Linked DNA regions of Homo sapiens: all the other regions are linked to region 3. The links are contacts of gene promoters, found by promoter capture Hi-C in blood cells and fetal thymus (Javierre and others, 2016). All regions are on one chromosome and are shown on one strand. The core of a region is centred on a gene start or on the middle of the fragment in contact, and the rest is flanking DNA. Distances in the headings are between cores, read along the strand shown.

The links. Contacts are between HindIII fragments. The CHiCAGO score rates a contact against its expected background, and 5 or more counts as called.
Region 1: a contact is called between a fragment that was not itself captured here and the fragment with the promoter of MAMLD1 in region 3, in 1 of 17 cell types (activated CD4 T cells). The highest score is 5.5, in activated CD4 T cells.
Region 2: a fragment that was not itself captured here is called in contact with the fragment with the promoter of MAMLD1 in region 3 in 1 of 17 cell types (M1 macrophages); the score reaches 5.6 in M1 macrophages.
Region 4: a fragment that was not itself captured here is called in contact with the fragment with the promoter of MAMLD1 in region 3 in 1 of 17 cell types (non-activated CD4 T cells); the score reaches 6.4 in non-activated CD4 T cells.
Region 5: a contact is called between a fragment that was not itself captured here and the fragment with the promoter of MAMLD1 in region 3, in 1 of 17 cell types (activated CD4 T cells). The highest score is 5.2, in activated CD4 T cells.

What each region holds. Positions count from the first base shown.
Region 1 is chrX:150,612,912-150,615,611 of GRCh38, reverse strand. MTM1 (myotubularin 1) reads right to left here. Exons shown (of 15, transcript NM_000252.3): 5 at 913-1,023. Among named protein-coding and RNA genes, the nearest start is that of MTM1, 46 kb to the right of the region's middle. The HindIII fragment of the contact is 1,207 bases long and covers 770-1,976 here.
Region 2 is chrX:150,187,333-150,190,032 of GRCh38, reverse strand. No RefSeq gene overlaps it. Among named protein-coding and RNA genes, the nearest start is that of MIR2114, 39 kb to the left of the region's middle. The HindIII fragment of the contact is 3,210 bases long and covers 1-2,700 here.
Region 3 is chrX:150,361,921-150,364,620 of GRCh38, reverse strand. MAMLD1 (mastermind like domain containing 1) reads right to left here and starts at 1,304. Exons shown (of 8, transcript NM_005491.5): 1 at 1,091-1,304. The HindIII fragment of the contact is 7,703 bases long and covers 1-2,700 here.
Region 4 is chrX:150,595,570-150,598,269 of GRCh38, reverse strand. MTM1 (myotubularin 1) reads right to left here. Exons shown (of 15, transcript NM_000252.3): 3 at 1,700-1,772. Among named protein-coding and RNA genes, the nearest start is that of MTM1, 28 kb to the right of the region's middle. The HindIII fragment of the contact is 6,867 bases long and covers 1-2,700 here.
Region 5 is chrX:150,522,605-150,525,304 of GRCh38, reverse strand. No RefSeq gene overlaps it. Among named protein-coding and RNA genes, the nearest start is that of MTM1, 45 kb to the left of the region's middle. The HindIII fragment of the contact is 765 bases long and covers 978-1,742 here.

The sequences.
Region 1 (2,700 bases), core at 124-2,623, 250 kb before region 3:
CAAGGCAAGTAATCTCACACAGCAAAGGCCTCACTTCTCTATCAATACAATGAACGACTTGGATTGGCCAGGGGCCAGCAAACTTCAGCCCAGGTCTTCAAATTAAGACTGTTTTTTTTTTTTTTTAACACTTCAAAAGGGTTGAAAAAACAACACACAGAGAAGAATACACAACAGAAATCTGATGTGGCCCACAAAGCCTAAAATATTTGCTACTGAGCCCTTCACAGAAAAAGTCTGCAAAGCCCTGCACTGGACTGGTGGTTCATAGTCACACGAGACGCTTGAACACATCCCCACCTTTTGGGTCCCAGCCTTCAGAAATTATCTTAGCAAAGTTACCCAACTCTTTGGAGCCTCGGGCTCCCATCACGCCATCTCAGAGGGTTGCACTTGAGGATCAAATGCAAAGCACCTAGCATGTGTTTGGATGGACACAAATGTTCAATACATGGTTACTATCACAGCAAAGTGTACCTCTGAAAATGACCTAAGCAAAAGTTACGAAGGTTATTAGAGGTAAGGACACATCCCGTTAACAGAGGGCAAAATCTCTTCTATTCCTCCTTCCTTCATGTTAACATATGACATGAAGGGGCGCCAGGAGCAAGCTGGAGCAAAAACTAAAGTGGTTTAAGAAATTTTATCTATAAAGTTCTCTTCCCACTCAGTCAAGCTAACAAACTGACCAGTTCCTCGAGTCCTTGTATTTGGTGATTGCAGTGGGTCCCTCACGTGGGCACTATTTCCCAGGCACTTTTGAAAAGCTTGTTCTTAAGGGAAGAACCATTTCCAGGGCCTTAGATGAACATGAGATTTTGATTTTTTTTTTTCAAATCCACATTAATTGTCTACTATCATTCAACACTAACGTGCCTTGTTCTTTGCATAAGAAAGTATCGAATCTCTTACTTTACAAGTAATATCTAGACCATAGGAATTTTCTCCTCTACTTGTCGCGCCTCCCATTTTTTCAATTCTCGAGATCACACCCAGAGGAACATCAAGTATTAGAGAAGAATCCTGTAATGGACAAAAATACAGTAGTCAGTATTTCTGTCAGTATAATTAAAACATCAAAAAACATATAAAAACAACCATATGCTTTCAGAGTGATTTTACCTTGGCCCTTTTAGCACTTTATGAACAAAAATATGATACAGATCACACATGACAGAGCAAGCATTAAAACAGTCAATTATGCAATCAAAATGCATCCCCAAACATTTGCCATTGTGCACTGCCTCTGGAGTAAAGACTAAACTCCTAGGTACACATTTCCAGGACGTCCGTGATATCACTTCCAGCCTGTTTCTGTGGGATTCTCTCCCACGATATTCTGCACTCCAACTAAGTAAACTTCTTCATTCTTCAGATGCTTCATCTACGATCAAGCCACCTGCTTTGCTCAGGGTGTTCCCTTTGCCTAGAATGATCTGTCTTTCCCAGCTACCAAAATTGTCCCCATGACTTTCGCCTTGGCTCAGCAAGCATCACCTCTAATGAGGCCTTGCTTCCCAATTAGATCAGGCAGAATTCATCACTTTTTCCTCAGAAGTTCCATAGCACTTGATTCCGACTGCTGTTAACCACTTGCTTCACTCTGCCTTGTTACCACGAATTTACACATATGTATTCCCCCACTAGAGACCAAGCATCTGGAAATGGTGCTTGTCTCTGGCATGCGTGCATTTCCCAAAGCAGAAGGGCCTTAATGCACAGCAAGGCTTCTCCATCATTTGCTATCCAACGCTGGGTGCAAGTGGTCTAGAAGACTGCTGGCATGATGGAATCATGTTAGTCAAGTAATAGCACAATCATCACCAGGAGATCATCACAGCAGCTGCCATGTAGGAAATACCTCTCTTCTGTGCCAGGTACTACATTAGGGGCTTTGCACGCATCATCTCATTTTATCCTCACAACCGTTCCAGGATATAGGTGAAGTATCCCCATTTCCTAAGTTTTTCAAAGCTTCAATAACTTGTTTAGTAAGTATAGGGCAGGGTTGAGACTCGAGGCAATGCCTGAAAACACACATTAAAAGTGCCATAAAAATTGTCCTACTCTTTGATCCAATAATTTCGCTACTAAGAACTTATGGCTATCACTTAACAGAAGGAAGATGTTCAATGGAGCTAGAGGTAGATAACAGGGTAGAAAAAATTATACTCAACTCGCTGGAACAAGTATACAGTTTTTAAAATAATTATGGTACATGGAAAAGTAAGTTTAAGTGGGAAACAGCAGCATACAACACACACGGTGACTACAATAACATGAAATATCTATTTACAGGGACAAAGACATGAAGGGCTACACCATTTTTAATCCAAACTTTTCTTTCATATTGTGATAGATAAGTTTGAAAAATAAAGAAAAAAAATTTTTAAGGGTTATTTGGTTTTTTGTTCTTTAAAAACCTTTTGGGGCTACAAAGTTTTTCTTTTCTTTCCCCCCTTTTTTTTTTTTTTTAAGAGATAAGTTCTTGCTCTGTTGCTCAGGCTGGAGTACAGTGGCTCACTGCAGCCTTGACGTCCCAGGCTCAAGGGATCCTCCCACCTCAGCCTTCCAAGTAGCTGAGACCACAGGCACACACCACCAGCCACACTTAATTTTTTTTTTTTTTTAGATGAGTCTCACTCTGTCACCCAGGCTGGAGTGCAGTGGCACGATCTCAGCTCACTGCAACCTCCACCT
Region 2 (2,700 bases), core at 136-2,635, 170 kb after region 3:
AAATAGAGCAAGCATGAAGGGAATCCATGATGTGCACAGAGGGGGCACTTATGGAGACAGTGGCCAAAAAAAAGATTGGCATATCTGTTGATGGGGGATGGCAGTAGGTGAGCACAGGGTGGGCAAATAGGAATACACCTCAGTCAGGGCTGGGGAAGTTTATTGGGTGGGTTTAGGAATCTCTGGATTTCTGTGTTCCAGACTTCGCCTGGGGATAATATAGACTGGGTCCCTGACATACCATGTGCTCCAAGTGGAATGGGTTCTGAATGACTGAAATGTTTACCCCCCTGGCACTCTATCTGACGATCTGCACTGATGTACTCTGAGGATGCTGAGTCCATGTGCTATCAAAGGCATGGAAGTGGCTGGGAGGGACGAAGGATGAAAACAGGAGCCAGTGTAAAGTGGGAGAGGTTAGGGCTGCTGGGCTTGGGCTGGAGAAGCAGCCCCTTTATATAGTCATTGGAGCCTCGGGGCATGACGCTAGAGAAAGACAGCATGGAGGGCCCACTTGGCCTGTCCAGATGAGGATAGACTTTTACATCCACTTTAGATTGAGTGGAGGAGAGGTCCACAGGGGTGCCTTAGAGTAGAGGTCAACAGACAAGAATCCTCCGTGCTCAAAGTCTGCCTTTATCTTCTCAAGGATGCAAGATAGTGCTGAATATGCCACTCCTCTTTCCCCTGATACCATGTTGACAAAATGTTCATTCAATTCTTTCAAAAAAATCCAAACACAGTAATCTTCCTGAGGAATTCAGAATTTTCTTAATTTCTGTCTGACATCCCTGCCTCTCTGGGGAGGTAGAGGTAGGAAAGAATATAGAAATTGTCCAAGTCTGAAAGTTGGCTCTAAGGAAACTTTATGCTGCAAAGCAGACATGCAAAATCTCTCTTGTAGTTGTCACAATGATATTAAATTACCTACTTTATTCATTTATGAGGCTCAATGCGAGCAGCAAATCTTAGCTGGCAGGCCCCAGGCCTGGGCTGTTGAGGGAAACAGGTGGTATGTGAGCACACACACCTTGTCAAGGCCTTTCTTGATGTCTCCCAGTGGCCTGAGTCCTCCTATAGGGCCTGCCCAGGCTTCAGGCCTCACTACCACTTGCTGCCTGGGAGTACATGACTACATGGCCCTCACTGTTCACCCAGCTTGAGCCATGCTCTTGCAGATGGAAAAAGAGCATACATGCATACTTGACCTCTGCCCTGTGAGGTAAGCAACACAGATATCAATAGTCCTGTTTCACAGACAAAGAAATTGAGGCCCAGAAAGGTTAAGTGATTGGTCATACTCAGCTGGCAGTAATAGAGCTGTGTCAAAACTCAGCTTCTCTGACTCCAAGCTCAGTTACCTTGCCATTCTGCATGCTGCCTCCTGAACTGGCCATGAACACTCTTTGAAGAGGTCATCTCAGAGTGAGGACACAAGTTGGGGTATCTGTCTCCACAGTTCTTCCCCATTCACTCTGTGAATGCAAACATGAATTTACGTTTGGCAAATATCAGTTAATATATCACTTCCATAGATAATTGAAAATTGGCTCTTGCCTGGGTGCAGTGGCTCATGCCTATAATCTCAGCACTTTGGGAAGCCAATGGGGGAGGATCACTTGAAGCCGGGAGTTTGAGATCAGCCTGGGCAACATGTTGAAATCACATCTCTTCAAAAAATAAAAAAAAAAATAGTGGGGTGCAGTGGCACGTGCCTGTAGTCCTAGCCACTTGGGAGGCTGAGGTGGAAGGACTGCCTGAGCCCAGGAGTTTGAGGCTGCAATGAGCCATGATCATGCCACTGCACCACAGCCCTCCAACCTGGGTGACAGAGTGAGACCTTGTCTAAAAAAAAAAATAAATAAAACCGAAAATTATCTCTCAAAATTACGGCAAAAAGATGAGACCTCTGGGTTAGTGAATTCAGGAGTCAAGGGGTAAGATTTTTAAGATGAATCCAGATATGGCATTAACTTTAGTAGGTGTTTAAAGAAGAGTTACAGCCATGTGAATACCCTGCTGTAAGACCTAGGTGATGATGAAAACTATTGTAGGCTGGATAATGGCCCCAAATCTGGAACTTCTAAATGTTACCTTATATGGAAATAGCATCTCTGCAGATGTGAATAAATTAATAATTTTGAGATGAGGATGTTATCCTCACATCTTCATCCATTTGGGTAGGCTCTAAATGCAACATCATGTGTCTTTATAAGGGGGAGGCAGAAGGAGATTTGACACAAATGCACAGCCCTGGGAATAGGAGTGCTACCTAGCCCTGCCACTTCCTAGCTGGGTTGTTTTTGGCAACTTGAAGGATAGGAATGGAACATACCCTCTTAGAGTCCACAAAAGTTAAATGAGAAAATATATGATGGATGGTAAGCACTCAAAAGAAGATGGCCATTATCATCTTTCTTTATTCGTGAAAACATAAGAACTCTTTTCATATGTAGTAGGGCTGAATAATTGGCCCCCATGATGCTCACATCATAATCCCCAGAAGCTGTGAATATGTTACCTGACATGACAAAAAGGACTTTGCAAATGTGATTGACTTAAGGATCTTGGGATGGGGAGGTCATTTTGGATTTTCAGGATTTGCCCTAAACGTAATCAACAATGATTCTTCTAAGTGGGATGGAGGAGGGTTAGAGTCAAAGAAGGAGATGTAATGACAGAAGCAGAGGTTGGAGTGAT
Region 3 (2,700 bases), core at 55-2,554:
GCCAAACAACAACGACAAGCCACCCCAGCAAAAGCAGCCCCTTCTCCCCACGTCCCCCAGCCACGCTGTGCTCCCGCCCGCTCACACACACCCACACTCCGGGTGCCCAGGTCAGCCGCACCCAGCTGCAGAAGCGCGGCGGGGCGGGAGTGAATGCTCCAGCCCGAGGCGCGTGTTTGCACAGGTTCCGATGGCTTCAGGGCCGAGCTTTCTGGCAGGCTAATCCTATTAGTGTCTGCTCAGTCCGAATTTAATCACGGATCAGAATCAGACGACATCTCCAGCTTTCCAGGAGGCTTCGGACACACTGCATTGGGACGGAGCCTGGCCAAGCCAACTGGCCGAGAAAAGTATTTGGCGGCGCTCCGGGGGGCTTCCCGCCCGCGCTAGCCGGCGCCGGGCGCCCAGCTCTGTCGTCGCGCGGATGCTGGGGAACCTGAAGCGCGGACTCTGACGCAGGGGCGCCGGGGCTGCTCCGCAGGAACCCAGTCCGGGCTGCCCTGAACACCAGCTCAGCTCCGGGCTGCGCTTCCCAGGAGTTGGCAGGGGAGGGAGTGCAGGGCAGCGGATTCGGCGCGCACACTCCACACTCTCGCTCAGAGGCGGCAAACAGCGTTGGGGTGGGGAAATCCTTCATCCAGCGCCCACTGCCTACTGGCCTGGGCTCAGGCAGCTGGCATGTGAAGGCACCGTCGCCGGTGACACCCAGGCTGCAAGCGACCCGGGGGTGCTGGGACAGAGTGGGAGCCTCCCAGTAGCCCAGCGTAGCCCGAGGAGCTTGCGCCCTTCTACCTTTCCTCCCCGGTACGTGGCTGTCCCCGCCGGATTTCAGACGCCCGACGGGCGCCGAGCCAAAGGCCGTGGTCTCCGGCGTTTCGAGCTGCGCCCAGCCCAGCCGGGCTGGTTCGAGAAGGGGGTGGCCGCCCGCAGCGCCAGGTGGGCCGTGTGCTCAGAGCAAACTTTAGGGTCTACCGACTCGAAGCACCCCTGGGACCCCGATCCTCAGCGATGGGGACCATAACTGGGGGCTACAAGTGTACCCCGGAACCCCCAGAACAGTCAGACTTCCTGCACCCGCCCTCAGCCTTACCGTGCTGCAGAGCTCCGGCGGCGGCGGGGGCAGTGTCCGAGGGGCGGGCGGCCGCCGGCGCGGGCAGCCTGGACTCAGGCGGCCGCCAAGGAACCCAGCCCTGTTGCAGATCACCCCCTGGCTAGCGGCCGGTGCCCCCGCGCCCGCCCGCCGCCGGCCGCTTCAGCTCGCGGCCAAGTTCATGCTGGCGGCGCTGCAGTGGCGGCCTCAATCTGCTCGCTCCATTCCCACCGCCCGGCTCCGCGCCGCGCGCCCGGAAGGTGGAGTTTCGGGGGTTTAAGTTACTGATAGGCATTTCTCACTGCTGTGTCACTCGGGGAGGAGGAGACACGCACGCCGCACACTCACACACCCTCACACTCACGGCGACGAGCGGCTCCGGCCTTAAAGGGGAAGCCGCGCTGCCCTGCCCGCGACCCCGCCAGCCCGAAGCCTGGAAACTCAGGGTTTCCACTCCGGGATGGGGCAGCGGGCAGCCAAAGAGCTGCGGCCGCCCGAGGGGCCTCCCGGGCCCTCCCACCAGTCTTTAGAGGAGAAAGCGGCCGCAGGCTGGCTTCGCTGTTGCAGCCTCATTTCTCCAGTCGGCTCGAACCAGGGCAGCTGGGGAGGGATCGGAGGGGCGGAAGGGGCATCGGTGCACTCACCTTGGCTGCTCCGCACTCAGTGGAGGGTGGTCTGTGCCCCCGGCGTCAGCTGGCTTGCCTAGGCGGTGCGCTGGTGGAAAGAGGCGACAGCAGGGTTAGCGGAGCGCCTCCAGCAGACAGAGCCCGCCGGAGGGCCGCAGGCGGGGCCCGGCGCGCTTGGGAAACCCGCACGCCGAAGGTAGACTTTCCGCGTCTGGGGAAAACGAGCTGGTGAGCCGTGCGTGGCCGGGACACACGAAGAGCGAGCACGGAGAGCCAAAAGCCAGCGGTCATCAGTGACAGGGCGAGAGAGCGCTCAGGACCGAGAGACCAAGAAAGACAGGAGACCGTACGAGACACAGAGAAGGCAGAGACTGAGAGACAGATACCGAGAGAGGCACCGGCGGAGATAGAGGTAGAGACACGATGAAGGGAGAGGAGAGGAGAGGAGATGAGAGGAGAGGAGAGGAGAGGAGGAAATAAGGAGAGGAGGAGAGGGACCAGAGAACAAGAGAGCTTGCAAGAGGAATGACAGATCCCCAGAGGACCCTGAAGTGTCACAGGGACGGGAGTCTCATCACAAAGTAGCCTATTCAGCCCCCATCCCCCTTCCCATTTTCACCAGAGCCTGACCCTAGGGCTAGCGGCCAGGCCCTTCTCCTCCCCTCGCCCTGGGAGGGGCACTCACCTGCAGTGGGTGGCTGCTGGGTGGGTAGCGCCAGTCCCTCCGCCCACGCATCCGCTCACCAGCTCGCGCCCTGACTGCCAAACAGACCCGCTGTGGCGGCAGCGGGGACCAGGGCTCTCAGGTGGCAGTTAGTGAACTGCATTCTCTCCATCCCGGCCGAGTGCCCCACTCCCCACTTCCCAGTCCCCCACCCTTAGCGCGGACGCTGTCGGCGTCGCCCGCCAGTACGCTTAGCTCAGAGTCCAGGCTCGCTGGCCAGTCTCCCGTTCCACTGGACCAGGGCACGCGATGCTCCCGCC
Region 4 (2,700 bases), core at 77-2,576, 230 kb before region 3:
AAGGTAACTATTTGAGCTACTTCAGCCAGAGGACGGCAACTCACCTGGGACAGTCTCACGGACTAACCACTAGACTGAGAGATGAGGCTACCAATCTCTAACCACAGAAACATAATCATGTTTTTAATAAATAAATGTCAGCAGTAGAAATCTTTCCAGTTTATTCTGTCTTTTTTTGTTTTTGAGATAGGGTCTTGCTCTATTGCCCAAGCTGGAGTTCAGTGGCACAATCATGGCTCACTGCAGCCTCAACCTCTCAGGCTCAAGCAATCCTCCCACCTCAGCCTCCTGAGTAGCTGGGACTATGGGTATGCGCCACTGCACCCAGCTCGTTTTTTAATTTTTAGTAAAGATGAAGTTTTGCTGTGTTGCCCAGGCTGGTCTCCAATTCCTGGCCTCAAGTGATCCTCCTACTTTGGCCTCTCAAAGTGCTGGGATTACAGGTGTGAGCCACCGCACCAAACCTTTTTCTTTTTAATAGTCTAGAATAGAGTTTGGCTAGGTTCATTTCAAACACTGAAGTGATATAAAACAGGTGGCCGAAAGAATAGTACATCTTTGGTAGAATAAACATAAGGAGAAGCTAAATCAGAATAATTAATTATAATAGAAATATGCCTCTCATCTTTCAGGGATGTCCTTGAATGTGTTAATGACTCGTAATGATTTTGAAATCCCTTTCTCTTCAAGTTCTAAATAAAAAATACTTAATAAAGCTACTTTATGCTAGTTCCATTAGTTACCACCTGGGTTAAGGTTCAGGCGCTGATACCTACCACCAAAACTTCATATATGAAGACGATCAAAAGTAAAATATCTTCTTTGCTCTTATCCAGAAATTGGGATGAACACATCCCACTGGTCTCCATTTCAAGACTAGAATGTGTGCAAGTTTGTGGACTCAGAAGAGAATTTCTCATGGTGTATGGCTAATTCCCAAAGGTACCTCGCTTAGGCCCGCCATCTAATTAGCACGAGGTTTTAGCCATTTAAGCTAAACAACCCAGATCTGAATTAATCAAAAGGTTCCCTGGAACAATGGTCATCACATCTGCTTCAAATACATTGAAGTCTGAAAGGAGGGTGTTAATCCACATATAAAATTTGCCCAGAACATTAGCACTTGGCTTAGAAGCTGTCAGATGCTTCTATATTCTTAAGCCGTAGTGATCTAGCCCTTCCAAAGTTGATCCCTTCCTTTTAGTATACGTTTATCATGAAAAATAACATCAAAATATTACCTAAATACTAACTTCCATTTTCTGACGAATGAAAGATATTTTAAAGCAATATGTTCTCCTATATTTCAAAGAGGAGAATGATTAAGCCTTCAAGCCTTTAAGTTTATCATTTTAAAGCATGCATCATTGACTGGAAATCATTTTGCTCTTAAAACCTTAAACCATGAGAGCTTATGGCTCCAATGAGAGACTTTCAAGAGATAATCCACATTTTTTTCCCCTAAATCATTCTCAGTCTTTGGTACAGACACAAGAATATCACTACCCTTGTGAGCATGAAGCTCTCAAAAGAACTCTTTAATCAAGAAAGGGATGCAGAGAGTTCTGTGTTAACGCTTCTAAACAAAGGTAGCCTATTTGTCTAAGCCTGACTGCTAAAGAGTAAGCGGGACTGAAGCCACCTGATCCTGCCAGACTTCTCCTCAAGTTATGCAAATCTTATGTCAGCAGGTCCTTACCAGTGATTAGTGTTTCTCCTGGAAGTCGAGGAACAGCCTCAGTGAGATCTCGATTGACTCCATCTCGAGACGTCTAGAAACAAAACAGATGCATCAGAAGTAATGACGTTACATTTACACACTGTTTTTAAGCAACTAGGAATACAAGCCACTAGAAATATGTTTTTTAAAGAAAAAGCATTAGAGATTTAGCATTTGGGAAAACTGGCACAAAAATTCAAACAAAAAAGTTACAATCTGGCACCAACATTAATTAGATGTGTCAACTTCTAGTATTAAATAATGCTAGCATGCTTTTCAATAATATTAATTTTTAAACTACATTTCCAAGCACTTTAAAGTTAACAGCTTTCGGGAAAGTGATAAAAAGTAAACATTAAGTGTGTTCTATAGATACACATACACTGTAGCAGCTTTCTTTTTTTCATATTCAGCCATCTTTTGGGAAGAGTAGGAAGGAAAACTTCAATTCCACAGAGGCTTAACTGAATAACAGCACAGCCATTAGCCAGAATCCTATTACAATGCCCGAAAATCATTGATTACCTATTGCGTTTCCTATTTCACTAAGACCCTTCCTCTCTTTTTACTTCCTCACATTTACTAAGATCCCTGTCCTAATAAGAGGTAAGAGTGGTCTGTCAGAGAACTTTTGAGCTGGCAAAAGTCTTAGGAGCCATTTGTACAAATTCTTCACATCACTTTACTATTTCTCTAGGCTTCCTGGCTTTAGAGGTATTCCCAAGCATGTGCCTCATTCAATCACTTCCACAGCTCTGCTAGGTGGGCACAGTAATATTAACCACTACAACCTGCAGGCGAGTTCGCAGAGCCTAATTTGCCATAGCTACCCATTGTCTTTCAGGTTATTCAGCTGCCCTAGTGGATTAATACGAAGATGTGTTGCAGGTGCTAGTCTGATGACATTTGAGGCACATCACTAACATCTGTTTGGGCAAAAAGTTTTTTTCAGCAGTATTTCATTTTTTTCTATTTGTTGT
Region 5 (2,700 bases), core at 111-2,610, 160 kb before region 3:
AAAGCCTCCTGCAGTCTGGGATTTGGAAAGCCTTGTGCCGAAATCAATAACCCCATGAAGGCCCAGCCTGGGCTCCTTTCAGATATGGGCCAGGTCAGCTAACTCTGGGACAAATAAAACCTTCTGGGTGCAGGGCCGGGGCGGGGAAGGGCAGAGTGCCCCAATTTCAGGAACGCACGCCAGTAAATTGGGACCCCACTTCCCCCACCCAGGGACAACCTCTGGTAACAGCCTTGGGTACCCTCTTCCTGATGGGCAGACTGTGTTACCACAGGTGGCAAGAACTCTTATAAAGATATCATTCTGTGTGTGTGTGTGTGTGTGTGTGTGTGCTTGTGTCTTGCCACGTTATCTTCACCTCCAATTTCTTCAAGCAAGGAGCCTAGCCTGGCTTCTTCAGGCACCCTTGCCTCAGGGATGATTTGGAGAACAAGCAATAGTGCCACTTTCCTTCTTATCACTGGAAAAGCACATTGAAGCAATGCAATGAGTGCTGGGGTGGGCAAGGCAGGAACCCTGGGCAGGGAGAAGCAACAAGGAGGAGGGGGCTTGCACTTTGGTGGGTCTCAGGTATGTGTGCAGGGCTCCCGCCACTTTCTTTTTTAGCAAAACTGAACTTTAATGACACGTTCCTTTAAACACATCCATTTGGTGCTGAAAATGGAAAGATGACTGGTATGGAGCAGAAGATTTACCTTATTGCAATTGTGTGTCACCTAACGATACAGTGTAAAATCACTAACATCGATTTCCACATCCCTTTGCCCCAACAATCTTCTGCTTCATACTCATAATGCTCGGTTTCATCTCATTATTGAGTTTACGATCTGAATATACACATGTGATGTGCCAAAGGATGGTCAATCCATGAAATGGAAAAAAGCACATTACAATCCAAGAGGCATCCGAGCTCTGTAGATAACTTTAAATTGTAGATAACATGGAAGGGAGAAAGACATCTGAGGAGAGAAAAAGCTTCAATTTCAGAAACCTAGCAGCTTTCCCCATAGTGATCCTAAGATTGCTAGTGGAAAGTTTTGGTACTGGCACTGATGTTGACTCAAACCTGCTGCCAGTAAGATTCCTTGGCATAATTCTGCATCTTGTTGCTCCTTGCGGATTCTTCATCATTTTCAGTACCTGGGAAGTTATTTTTGCAATGGGATATGGACACCCATACCTGTATACAGTCTGATCTCCATCTTATGAGCAAGACAAATCTTTAACTCCAAATCTCAGGCCCCCTCAGAGTTCTCTTTTGGGGAGAAACAGCAAGTCCCATTTCTGCTGCCTTTTTCGTTGGATCTTTTCTAAGTCCTGCTGTTGAAATAGCTCTTCTAGTACAGGGAAACTGTAGTTAGTTAGTAGTAGGGCTGATGGTCAAGTTACTGAAGCCCTTAACTGGCATTCCTGAGGAGGAAGGATGAGAGGGTGGTTTCCTCACTCTAAGGTTCAAAGAACAATTCATAAAATGATGATATTCAAAATTAAATATCAATTGATTCTGATAATATAAATGCTGAGTAAGGATTCAAAGTAACAATGTTTCATCTAATGGCCTCTTTTGTTGGATTTTATCTTCACTGTCCTGCTCTGGGGACAGACTTTCTGTTGGAGGGTCAAGTTACTGAGGCCCTCTCTCAGCATTTCTGAGGAGGATGAATGAGGAGGTGTGGTGTTTTCCTGAGAGTTTTCTTTTGAGGGTATCTGGGAATATTCAGGAGCCAAGATTGGGTTAAGCTTCCGTGGTGAATCAGTGGAGATCCAGTCACAGCCTGAGACTCCTTTTGGACCTTTAGATGTGAACAGGAAGGTTGATATGGTTTGGCTTTGTGTCCCCACCCAAATGTCATGTTGAATTGTAATTCCTGATATTGTAGGAGGGACCTGGTGGGAAGTGATTGGAATATGGGCGCAGATTTCTCCCTTGCTGTTCTCGAGATAGTGAGTTCTCATGATATCTGGTTGTTTGAAAGTGTGTGGCACTGGGCCAGGCGTGGTGGCTCATGCCTATAATCCCAGCACTTTGGGAGGCCGAGGCAGGCAGATCACATGAGGTCAGGGGTTTGAAACCAGCCTGGCCAACATGGCAAAACCCCGTCTCTACTAAAAATACAAAATTAGCCGGGCATGGTGGCGCACACCACCATAATCCCAGCTACTTGGGAGGCTGAGGCAGGAGAATCGCTTGAACCCGGGAGGCGGAGGTTGCAGTGAGCCGAGATCGGGGGCCATTGCACTCCAGCCTGAGCAGCAAGAGCGAGACTCCATCTCAAAAAAAAGAAAGAAAGAAAGAAAGAAAGAAAGTGTGTAGCATTTCCCCCTTTGCTCTCTCTCTCCTACTCCACCATCATAAGACGTGCTTGCTTCCCCTTCACCTTCCACCGTGATTGTAAGTTTTCTGAGGCCTCCCAGCCATGCTTCCTGTACAGCCTGTGGAATACTGTGAGTCAATTAAACCTCTTTTATTCATAAATTACCCAGTCTCAGGTAGTTCTTTATAGCAATGTGAGAACAGACTCATACAAAGGTGATGCTTGAGGCTCTCAAATTGGTACAGGTTGGCCTGGAAAGAATTCCAGCCTAGTTTGGGGAGTGGAAACCAGACTTCCAACACATGGTAAGTCCTGCATGCTTTTTAACAGCTGCATAATACTCCACTGAATGGCATTAACCAGTCCCTGTTTTGGACATGGGAAT